Linked DNA regions of Homo sapiens: regions 2, 3 and 4 are each linked to region 1. The links are contacts of gene promoters, found by promoter capture Hi-C in blood cells and fetal thymus (Javierre and others, 2016). All regions are on one chromosome and are shown on one strand. Each heading gives the region's core, a stretch centred on a gene start or on the middle of the fragment in contact. The rest is flanking DNA. Distances are from core to core; before and after follow the strand shown.

Evidence for each region. Contacts are between HindIII fragments. The CHiCAGO score rates a contact against its expected background, and 5 or more counts as called.
Region 2: a fragment that was not itself captured here is called in contact with the fragment with the promoter of LAP3 in region 1 in 4 of 17 cell types (naive B cells, total B cells, naive CD8 T cells and 1 more); the score reaches 26.0 in naive B cells.
Region 3: a contact is called between a fragment that was not itself captured here and the fragment with the promoter of LAP3 in region 1, in 1 of 17 cell types (total B cells). The highest score is 9.1, in total B cells.
Region 4: a contact is called between a fragment that was not itself captured here and the fragment with the promoter of LAP3 in region 1, in 1 of 17 cell types (non-activated CD4 T cells). The highest score is 7.0, in non-activated CD4 T cells.

Annotation. Positions count from the first base shown.
Region 1 is chr4:17,575,748-17,578,447 of GRCh38, forward strand. It overlaps LAP3 (leucine aminopeptidase 3), which reads left to right and starts at 1,451. Exons shown (of 13, transcript NM_015907.3): 1 at 1,451-1,820. The coding sequence starts at 1,719. RefSeq lists enhancers at 1,099-1,458, 1,799-1,998 and a silencer at 1,519-1,728. The HindIII fragment of the contact is 2,285 bases long and covers 149-2,433 here.
Region 2 is chr4:20,701,844-20,704,543 of GRCh38, forward strand. PACRGL (parkin coregulated like) reads left to right here. Exons shown (of 9, transcript NM_001258345.3): 2 at 2,623-2,690. The coding sequence starts at 2,639. Among named protein-coding and RNA genes, the nearest start is that of PACRGL, 2.7 kb to the left of the region's middle. The HindIII fragment of the contact is 483 bases long and covers 1,112-1,594 here.
Region 3 is chr4:13,616,518-13,619,217 of GRCh38, forward strand. The region is part of intron 2 of BOD1L1 (biorientation of chromosomes in cell division 1 like 1); the gene reads right to left. Among named protein-coding and RNA genes, the nearest start is that of BOD1L1, 9.9 kb to the right of the region's middle. The HindIII fragment of the contact is 254 bases long and covers 1,130-1,383 here.
Region 4 is chr4:13,632,776-13,635,475 of GRCh38, forward strand. No RefSeq gene overlaps it. Among named protein-coding and RNA genes, the nearest start is that of MIR5091, 6.3 kb to the left of the region's middle. The HindIII fragment of the contact is 1,837 bases long and covers 420-2,256 here.

The DNA of each region.
Region 1 (2,700 bases), core at 201-2,700:
GTTCTAGGCAGAAATATAGTTATAATTAAGCATTAATCAGGCTGTACTTTGGCCCACTTCCTTGTTGCTAAAAGTCACCTAGCACTACATACTGACCATTTGCATTCCCATTGTTCCTATAGACAGGATCTCTGACATTAGAATCATAAGCTTTCTGTTTAAGGATCGCTTAAGATATTTTTCAGACCTTGAATTCCAGCTACCAGTTTGAAGATCCCCAGAGAGGAATGGGGTCAGCTTAAGAATACAGGTTCTTCAACGCCCTGTCCCATGACTTCACCCTGCACTCTTCAATCAACGATCTCCACACTATAGCCCTCTCCAAAACCCTTAAAAACCTTGACCCCAAATTCCTCAGGGAGATGGATTTGAGGTTTCCTCCCATCTCCTCCTTTGGCGACTCCACGATTACACCTCTTTCTCTGCTGCAACCCTGGTGTCTGGGCGTATTGACTTGCTATGTGCACGAGTCAACGAACCTAATAGTGTTACATCATTTTCAAAAACAGTATTTACACCGTTGCACCTGTGGAACAGATGAAAGGACACGAATAAAAATAACTCAGGCCAGGTGCGGTGGCTCACGCCTGTAATCCCAGCACTTAGCGAGGCCGAGGCAAGTGGATCACGAGGTCAGGACTTCGAGACCAGCCTGGACAACATGGTGAAACCTCGTCTCTACTAAAAATACAAAGAGTTGCCGGGCACGGTGGCTCACGCCTGTAAGTAATCCCAGCACTTTGGCAGGCTGAGGCGGGTGTATCACCAGAGGTCAGGAGTTCAAAGCCAGCCTGGCTAACATGGCCAAACACTGTCTCTACTAAAAATACAAAGATTAGCCAGGTGTGGTGGTGGGCGCCTGTAGTCCCAACTACTCGGGAGGCTGAGGCAGGAGAATCTGTTGAACCCGAAAGGCGGAGGTTGCAGTGAGCCGAGATTGCGCCACTGCACTCCAGCCAGGGCTACAAGAGCGAGACTCCGCCTCAAAAAAAAAATCCAAAAAAACAACAAAAAAACACAAAGATTAGCTGGGCGTGGTGGCGGGCGCCCCTAATCCCAGCTACTCGGGAGGACGAGGCAGGAGAATCGTTTCAACTAAGCAGCGGGAGGTTGCAGTGAGCCGAGATCGCTCCATTGCACTCCAACCTGGGTGACAGAGCGAGACTCCGACTCAAAAAAACCAAACAAACAAACGAAAACTCAGTGGGAGTGTCTTCACTATGCAGTCGTCTATTCAGCAACCTTGACAACAAGCTCTGGCACTCAGTTTCTATTTCCCGGGAGTTGCCCAGCGCTCCGCCCACGCCCGCTTGCAGAACTCGCCCCGCCTCCGCCCCACCCATCGTGTGACGTCACCATATCGGTCCCGCCCCTCTACTTCGCGTTGCTCCCGGGACTGTCAACCGCGTCCGGAAGCCCCGCCTTTTCGCCCCCGCCCGCATGCGCGGGCGCACACGAATGCGGGCGCACACGAATGCGGGCGCACACGAATGCGGGCGCACCCTTGAGTCCCCTCCACAACCGCGGTTTGATCCCAGCGGTCCAGTCGGCCGGTGCTGCCCATCCGTCCCGCCCCCTAGACGCACGTCCGCTCGCCCGGCGCCCGAGCCAGTCCGCGCGCACGCCGTCTGCGCCCCGAAAGCCCCGCCCCAAGGCGCGCCCGCCCACCGCTCTCCACGTGCTCGCTGGAGGGCGGTGCGAGGGGCCGAGCCGACAAGATGTTCTTGCTGCCTCTTCCGGCTGCGGGGCGAGTAGTCGTCCGACGTCTGGCCGTGAGACGTTTCGGGAGCCGGAGTCTCTCCACCGCAGACATGACGAAGGTGAGAGGCGGCGGCTCGCTCATGGTCCGCCGCTGGGGCCCTGCCCGTGGGCTACTGGGGCTGCGGGGCTGGTCGAAGCCGCGGTGTCCTGGGCGCCCAAGCCAAGTTGCAAAAATCAGTTTAAAAGAAAAATTCTCTCCTTGCGGGGATCGGCCTAGGCCGCTGAGGACCCCAGCGGTCGTATTGAGGGCGCGATTCCCCTGCTCGGGGCTAGGGGGTGATGGTTGTAGCCGCCCTTTACCCGGCTCCACTCGGCCGCGCACTTGCTCCAGTCGTCACCCGCGGTCCTGGCAGTAACCCGGGGAAAGACGCGGCGGTGGGGCTCCCATCCGAGCTTGGAGGAAGCCCGAGTTTGCCAAGGTGAAAGGGTTTCTGAGGTCCCAGAGTCACAGGGCTCCTTCCCCCGCGGAAGTGAAAGGTCAGGGAGTTAAGTAGCTTGGAAGGGTTTCTAGAGGAAAAGCATGCCTCTCTAGAGAAAAGGGCTTTGGGGAGAGACCCACGTTTCCCAGAATTAAGAGCATCTTCCAGAAGAAAAGTGAACTCCAAAAAATTACGAAGGTCGCTCTTCAGATGTGAAGGATCTGCAAAGGGAATGGCTCTCGGAACCAGCACAAGCTTGGGAGTCATGCCTAAGCACCAGAAAGAGATGACTGTCCCTGCAGAAGAACGTTCTAGGGGGAGCTTGAGCTCCAGTCTCCTGCAGGTATCTCAGTGGTGGAGGGACCAGTCGCCTGACCAGTGCTATCTCCAGTACTGTGCCACAGCCTACCCAGATAACAGTTGCTCAGTTGGCTCCATTGATTCCCGGGGAGTGAACAATCTTAGGGAAGTTAGAACCTGGCAGAGTTACCAATGCCAAGGAAGGCCGTTTTCTTTGGTG
Region 2 (2,700 bases), core at 103-2,602, 3.1 Mb after region 1:
AACCCGCATATACGGAGAGCCAACTGTAATTTGTCGTTAAGGTAAAGGATAAAAATTTTAAGTGAAAAAGCAATTGTTTTGGAAGGAAATTCTCTAATACAGGATTTTGAAAGGGGATGTAGACGTGTTTGCATTACTGTATGTTTAATGCTGAAAATTATATATTGTACATAAAAGTTGTCCTGTATACTCATAAACTGTAGAAGCTCGATTTTCTACCATGTTTAAAACTTTTTCAAATGAGTTTTGGTGACTTTTTGAACTCATTCAAAATATAATGCAACACCTCCCCATTAGTTTGTTACAGGAACAACTTTTTGACGTGAAGGAAGATAGAAATTTAGCCATAAAATTCCATCCAAAACTTCCACTGAATTGGTAGGTAGTATTGAAAAATGTGCATCATAATTTGATATGGCTGCCTGTGCCCTTGTTATGTTTGTGGGTACGCGTCTTTGCTGTGCATCGCTTTTATCTGTTGCAGCTGTTAACAATTGATGATCAAGAGAAATTGGACCTCAGCTGGTCTTCAAATTGATGTAGCCCAAGATGTTAAGCCAGATTTTTTAAAAATGACAAAACATGTGGTTTCACTATTAGTAATAGTAATACTGAAGAACACTTTGTACCATTGTAAAGAAAATTATAATAATAGCTAAGACTCATGTGGCCCTTACTGCATGCCTCCCATTATGGAAATGTTGTTTTACATATATTCTTACTAGTCTTCATCAACACTTAAAGTAGTTCCTGTAATTATGCCCAATTATAGAGTTGAGGAAACTGATGCATTTTTTTTTTCAATAGAAACTTGTGTTGTTCCCCCTCCAGGAGCTTCTCAAAACAGAAGTCAGGCACAATATTAAATACTTGTTGAATGATCACAGAAGTACAATAGTAGGTTAACATATTTAAAGCTTCTCTCAGCTTATTTTAGACTATTATCTGACAACTTTAATGAGATTTTAATTACCGTAGTATTAGAAAATGGCCCTGGGAATGGAGGTGAAGTGTGATACTGGGAAGTAAGTCATCTGCTGGTAGTGGGATGAGATAAATGAGATCAATGTACTAAATCAAGGAAATTGAAATTATTCAGTGTGCAGAAGCAAGCTTACATTTAGGTTATCTTTACATGGTATCAGACTTTAAGCTGGTACATCATGTTTGAGATATCTGGCTAAATTTTATAACATGGAGCTTTGTCCTCCTTTTGAGGATTTCTAACTTGTTAAGTGGATTAAAAGCATTTCATGTGAGGAATCATTTTAAAAAGTATCAGTGTTTATCCTGAAGAAGAAAAAATGAAGGAGTTAAGAGTTAATGCCATCAAATATTTGAAAAAGTGTCATTTGGAGGTGGAAGAGGACTTTACCTGTGTTGTCCTAAGGGAAGATCTTACACTATACTTGAGAGGCAGTCATTATTAAAGGCATTAAAATGAGACGTGTGCTAATAGAATAACTAGATTGTCGTGGAAGTGAGGGAACAGAGTAATCAAGTAGAAATAAGGACACAGGATAGAAATCAATGCCATAGAAATACACATTTGAGAAACCAAGATGAGGAAAGGCTTCATGGAAGTTGGGAATGAAGCTTGGCCTAAAAATACCAGTAGGCACTTGGGTATATGAGTGTGTGTGTGTGTGTGTGTGTGTGTGTGTGTGTTTGTGTGTGTGTATTTCTTGCTAGAGATACAATTGTAGAAATTGATTGGATTAGCTGGAAACCTTGGGGTATGAACTAGAGTCCTCCATTAGCAGAAAAAAAGCAACTGTGTAAGGGAAAAGTGAACCAGTATTCCCTGGGTGAGTAACTTGAGAGATAATTTCATTTGCACCTCCAGAAAACCTTGACAGGCTTTTATTTCCCTCTTTAAACAGGTCAGGAAGTCGAGGTTTAGGGAGGTTAAATAATCTGCCTAAATTCATAAATTTCATAATTGGTAGAACTGAGATGCAGACCCATATTTGAGCCCAAAGCTCTTTCTTTCTCATCACGTGTAGCATTGAGTGTAGGAAATGAAGGAAAAGGAGACAATGGTGATTCTAAGTTTTTCAGTCTGAGGACCAGAAAACTGGTGGTACCCTGGGTTAACAAGGGGTTCATAATAACTTCAGTGTGACAACCTCAGTTTTAGTTACATTCAGTTTAAGGAGCTTGTGATACATTGGGTAGGAGAGTTCATTATGTCACTGGAAAAGTAGAGCTTGATGTGCACATGTTAACATTTGGAGCTTTGGAAATACAGAGGCCAGAGAAGATGGAGAAGATGACAGGGAATGTACCAACCACTCCTTTCAGAAATCTAGTCTGTGTTTTCTAATGTGGTCAGAGAATTGGAAGTGAGTTTCTAACAGTTTATTTTGACAATTTGAATGGAAAAAAAGTTGACTTTTGTACATCATTTCTTGGAGATGATTATTTTGCTGTTATTGATACTATTGAAGTTGACATAATTTCATGTTTTCTCATTAGTCTTTTCCAGTATTTTGCTCCATATCAACTTTTTTGTGTGTCTTTTACTGTATTGTATACTCTGTTCTGGTTTTGTCTTTTTATTGATAACAAATGCCCCTCCAAACAAATTTTGAAATCAACTTTTTTTTTTTTAAACTGCAGGAGTGAAAGGGAAGCAATGCAGAAATCAGAGGGCTCTGGAGGTACACAGTTGAAAAACAGAGCAACAGGTACAGAGCT
Region 3 (2,700 bases), core at 7-2,506, 4.0 Mb before region 1:
ACACACTTAAATCTTGTTTCTTCCTAAAAAAGAAGTGGAGGAGTCAAGGTAGTCAGGATAGTGCTGGAAGATCAAAGTGCTCGTCATTTTTAGCTTCTAAGCCTCAACTGCTCTCTATGGAATGGATGAGGAGCCATCTTTCCTTACACTTTACAAATGCTATTTTTGAGTGCACTTCCATCTGGAGTGCAGGATGGATTAGTTTTTCATTTCTGGAAGCACCTTGTCGCCTTGTGAAACTATAATTCTACTTATGTGGGCCATAGAGAAAAATGAGCCAACTCAGCACAAAGTAGGTTACCTGCTTTTTAAAGATTAAAAAAAAATGCAAATCTTGCAAACACTGTTACATCTTAGAGGTGTATTTAAAATGTAGTAGGTAGAAAAGAAATAAGAAAAAGCAATCTTAAAAAAGGTTTTAGGGTACAAGTAAAAAGGTACAAAAAGGACCGGGCATGGTGGCTCACGCCTGTAATCCCAGCACTCTGGGAGGCCAAGGCGGGCAGATCACAAGGTCAGGAGATCGAGACCATCCTGGCCAACATGGTGAAACCTCATCTCTCCTAAAAATACAAAAATTAGCTGGGTGTGGTGGCACGTGCCTGTAATCCCAGCTACTTGGGAGGCTGAGGCAGGAGAATTGCTGGAATCCAGGAGGCAGAGATTGCAGTGAGCTGAGATGGCACCACTGCACTCCACCCTGGCGACAGAGCGAACTCCGTCTCAAAAAAAAAAAAAAAAATAGAAAATAGAAAAAAAAGTACCAAAAAAAAATTAAACTATCCACTCCCAAATTTTTGCTTCAGTCTCTTTCTCTGTTTGCCTATGTTCCAGCCTCTTGTTTTGCAAACAAACAAAACACTTCTGCTTTAGTCCTTTCTCACACAGAGGTCAGCTCTAATCTTACAGAAAAATGGAGTCCAGTACCAATGATCATACTGCACTTAGCGGCCATAACTGCCTCACCCAAGTGGGGAGAAGCTACAGCCCTAGGTCAACGGCAAAGCCAAAATGCCAACAGCTGGCGTTTTTCTGGTTAAAGTTACTTCCTTGTCTTCCTTTCAAATTATGTTTAGCTAAGTTCGTTATTCAGTTACCTAGGATTTTCAGATTCTGTTGTACAAATAAAAGCTTAAGTAGAATAAAATTTTCCCTCCTACTGAGTCAGCAGATCAGCTATTAAGTTGAACCATCTGAAATTACTGGTATTAGACCATTTTTGTCTTACAAAAATGGCAAGTGCAGATAGCTCAACCTAATGGAGTCAAGTGAGTATGTCTCAAAGCATACGTACAAAAAACTGTTTGAAATTATATTTATTTACAGGGGCTAGTCCACCCCTATACCTTCAGATTGAACATAACTAAATAATCTCTTTAAGGAAGCTTTAAAATGTTATTATCAGTATCATCCAAGAGAAGGCAGCTGTCTTCCCTCTTTCAAAATGTCTCCAGAAAAAGAGATTCCTCATTACTCATAGGCAAATTGCTCCAGCATTTAATCACTGACACAGCCACAAGAACCCCTGACCTCGCACCAAACATGATTTTGTGATCACAATATCTTACTGGTACAGCAATAATTTTAAGTGCTTAATTTTCACATGTGTAAGACTTAGTTCCCTTAAATAAAAGAATGACTGCTCCCTTACCTTATAGATTTTATACGCTATAAAAGTAAATGCAATTCTAAGAAGTTTGCCTTCAATCTGAGTGTCAATATATGAAGAAAAAAAATGCCAGACTCCCAAAAAAACATGCTTTTAAAGCAATGCAATCATTTGTGAACAGGGAGGTGGCTATGCAAATCACTGAATGAAAGTAATCAGTAGGGCTCTGTATAAATGTGTGTGAAGGGGTGCTCTACCCTACCTCCACTCCCTTATCCCCTAGTCCTAAGCTATTTTGGTCATTGTTCTCTTTGAAAGCCTTTGTGGAAACTACAGGCAGCGGGCCTGTCACCCAACAGATCTTTTTTGTTTCTACTTTTTCTAGAAACAGCTTTGACCTTTTCCCACCAGGTATTATTATGCAGCCTTCTAATGGCATCTTTTGATCTCACCTGGACTCTTTTACAGGTTCCTCAGACATCCTTTAAAATGTAGACAACAAAGCTATTGTGAATTTCCCTCTTCTCTTATGCACAAGGAGACACTGTCTGAGCCCCCAGGCTTCTGGTTTCTAGTATTACCTGTGGCTAAATAGGTTTGTCTTTTAGTCAGGGTGTGAATTTTGATTTGTGGGGCTTCCTGTTGGTTGAAACTATCAGACTAGATAGGCTTTCGAGAGGTTCCTATGGGACAAAAGGAAATTAAGAGGTGGCAGGTATAAAACAGATTTGTTTAACTGTTAAAAAAAAAAAAAGCTACACTTCATTCTCAAAGATGTACTTGAACATAAATACTTGTCAAGTCAGGGAGACTGGATGATCTCTAAATAACTTAGTCACCCTTTTTTTGAGGGGTATAGCAAGGGTAGAAGGCTTTCTTGTCTTTGCAAATATTTACATTCAAGAACAAGTAGTGGCCAGGTGAGGTGGCCCATGCCTATAATCCCAGCACTTTCAGAAGCCAAGGAGGGAAGATCCCTTGAGCCTAGGATTTGGAGACCAGTCTGGGCAACATAATGAGACCCTGTCTCTACAAAAAAATACAACGATAAGCTGGGCATGGTGGCAGGTGCTCAGGAGGATGACGTTGGG
Region 4 (2,700 bases), core at 88-2,587, 3.9 Mb before region 1:
AACAGGATTGACTCTCATTCTGTTCCCCAAGTCTGATGTCAAGGTGACAGAGTTTATAGTTTGCGAATTAGGGAAGCAACAATAGGTGATGATGGCCCCTGTTACTGGTAGCCATGTGCATGGTTAGGCACCAGATTCCTGACAAATGGTTTTTGTCAGGAATTTCTTTTCCTTTCTACAGTCCAGCCTGTCCCCCACCCCTACCCAATCCTCCAGACTGCTTCTGTGAGCTTGTCCAGTGAAAGTCAAACATTGATCTCCTAACACCAGGGATCCCATCTGATTATTCGTCAGAGTTGTTTCCTTATTTTCTTCCCCTTGTACCCCCATGGGATCCCCACTCTTTGGCATCTCCATTCCCGACTAGGCTTTTCATAATCAAAGGGAAATCAATATTTCCTAAATCTCCATCAACCCAAAGCTTAGTAGAAACTTTGAAAGTTCGTTTTTCAGTGATAACGGAAAACATCGGAGGAGGGGGAGAGGACATGTGTTAATATTATTTGTCTTTCCAATGCAAGCTGCATGGTCACACATATTCTATTTTTGTTGCAGTATAGTAGTGCCCTGTTATCCATGGGGGATATGTTCCAAGACCCCTAGAGGATGCTTGAAACCATGGAGGAACAAACTATACCATGGGCTGGGCTCAGTGGCTCACACCTGTAATCCCAGCACTTTGGGAGGGTGAGGCAGGTGGATCACCTGAAGGCAGGAGTTCAAGACCAGCCTGGGCAACATGGTGAAACTCCATCTCTACTAAAAATACAAAGTTAACCGGGTATGGTGTCACGTGCCTATAATCCCAGCTACTTGGGAGGCTAAGGCAGGAGAATTGCTTGAATCCGGAAGCCGGCGGTTGCAGTGAGCTGAGATCGTGCCACTGCACTCCAGCCTGGGTGATAGAGTCAGACTCCATCTCAAAAACAAAAACAACAACAAAAACCCCAAAAGTCTATACTGTGTATATTATATTTTTTTCTGATCTGATAACCAAGATGGCTGCTAAGTGACTTAACAGGCAGCTAACATACACAGAGTGGATATGCTGGACAAAGGGATGGCATGGTATGGTGCAAGATTTCAGCATGTTTGTCAGAATGGTGCAACACTTAAAATGTATTCATTGTTTCTGGAATTTTCCATTTAATATTTTCAGACCACAGTTGACCATGAGTAACTGAAACTGCAGAAAGCAAAACCTCAAATAAGGCAGGACTACCATGATGGTGGGGCTGCAGAGTGTTATACAATGTTAATGTGAAAAGCGGGTACTGATTTTTCCCTTGAAAGAATTGTCACTTGCCCTAGGGTCAGGGCATGGAAGTGGAGTGGTACAGGGGGACAGTAAGGCAGAGAGGACGAAGGGTGATTCTGGGACATTTGGCATAGACTGGAAACTTCAGCTCCCTGCCAGTCTGGGAGTGTTGTAGGGTAGGGGTGCTTTGGAAATGGTGGCTTTGTGAGAATATATTACCTTGAGGAGCTGCAGAATTCAAGAGAGTGGCCAAGTTCTAGTTGGTGGGAAAAAGGAGGATGTGTCTGGGGCAGCAAGACAGGAGTAATGTCAACTGAGACGAGGATTGGGATACATAAGCCCCTGGGATATTGGAGTAGGAACTTCAGAAGAGGAGGGAAATAGAGTGGTGGGGGGTATTTGGTGAAGTTGGACCTATCAGTCACATTAGTTATTAATACTTTATGGGATGGGAGATTCCTCTGTGGGTAATCTGGAAGACTAATAGTGGTTCTCAAATTTTAGCCTACACCAAAATCTCCTAGAGGACTTGTTAAAATAGAGTACTAGGCACGCCATCCTGAGTCCCTGATTTGATAGGTCTGGGACAGAGCCTGAGAGTTTCCATTGTTAACAAATGCATTTAACAAATGCTGATAGAACACTATATGAGAAACACTGGACTAGACAAATCACGGCCCACAGGCCTAATCCAGTCTACCTGTTTTTATAAACAAAGTTTTACTGAAACCGTACTTTCTAGTTTGAACATTTTTTTTTGTAAGATGATACTCCTTTTATGCAAGTACCATTAATTTTTATACATTTCTTTGCTCATAAGGTTTAAACTCCTGGTAGTGATAGCAATCAGATTTATAAAAGTAAGATTTATTATGAAGTTAGGTAGCCTGTGCCTATTAATGCTACTGAATTGCTGGCTATTTTGAAAATTGAGATGTCAATATTGCAGATGGCTTGAAATGCAAGGTATCTTTTATATGCTTATAAAGATGGAAAGAAGCTTTGCATTTAGCATTTTCCATTTAGGCTTTGTGAAAATTGTTCTTATTTTAAAAATAGCCCTAACATGTGTGTGTCTGTGTGTGTGTGTGTTTCCTGAGTATTCTAGATGGTACATGGTATTCTGAAAACTGAAAGTCACACCTCCAGGAATAAAATTAGGAAAAGCAGAAATTGGAGGGAGGTCTCTAGAAATGATGTAGTATTATCTGAATACCTCAAATCTAATCCAGGTCATCTGGGTAGAAATTCTGGGAGGGATTTATTTAAATATAAATAAAAATTTGTATACCTAAATAAAGATTGTATTCTACATTTGAAGAAAGAGTTGTTTTTTTTTTTGTTTTGTTTTGTGTTTTAAGAGTAAGAGGTGGTTGGCATGCATGTATGAAAGGAAGGAATTCAAAGTGTCTAGAATTGGCACTGTCTCTGGAGAGCATGCA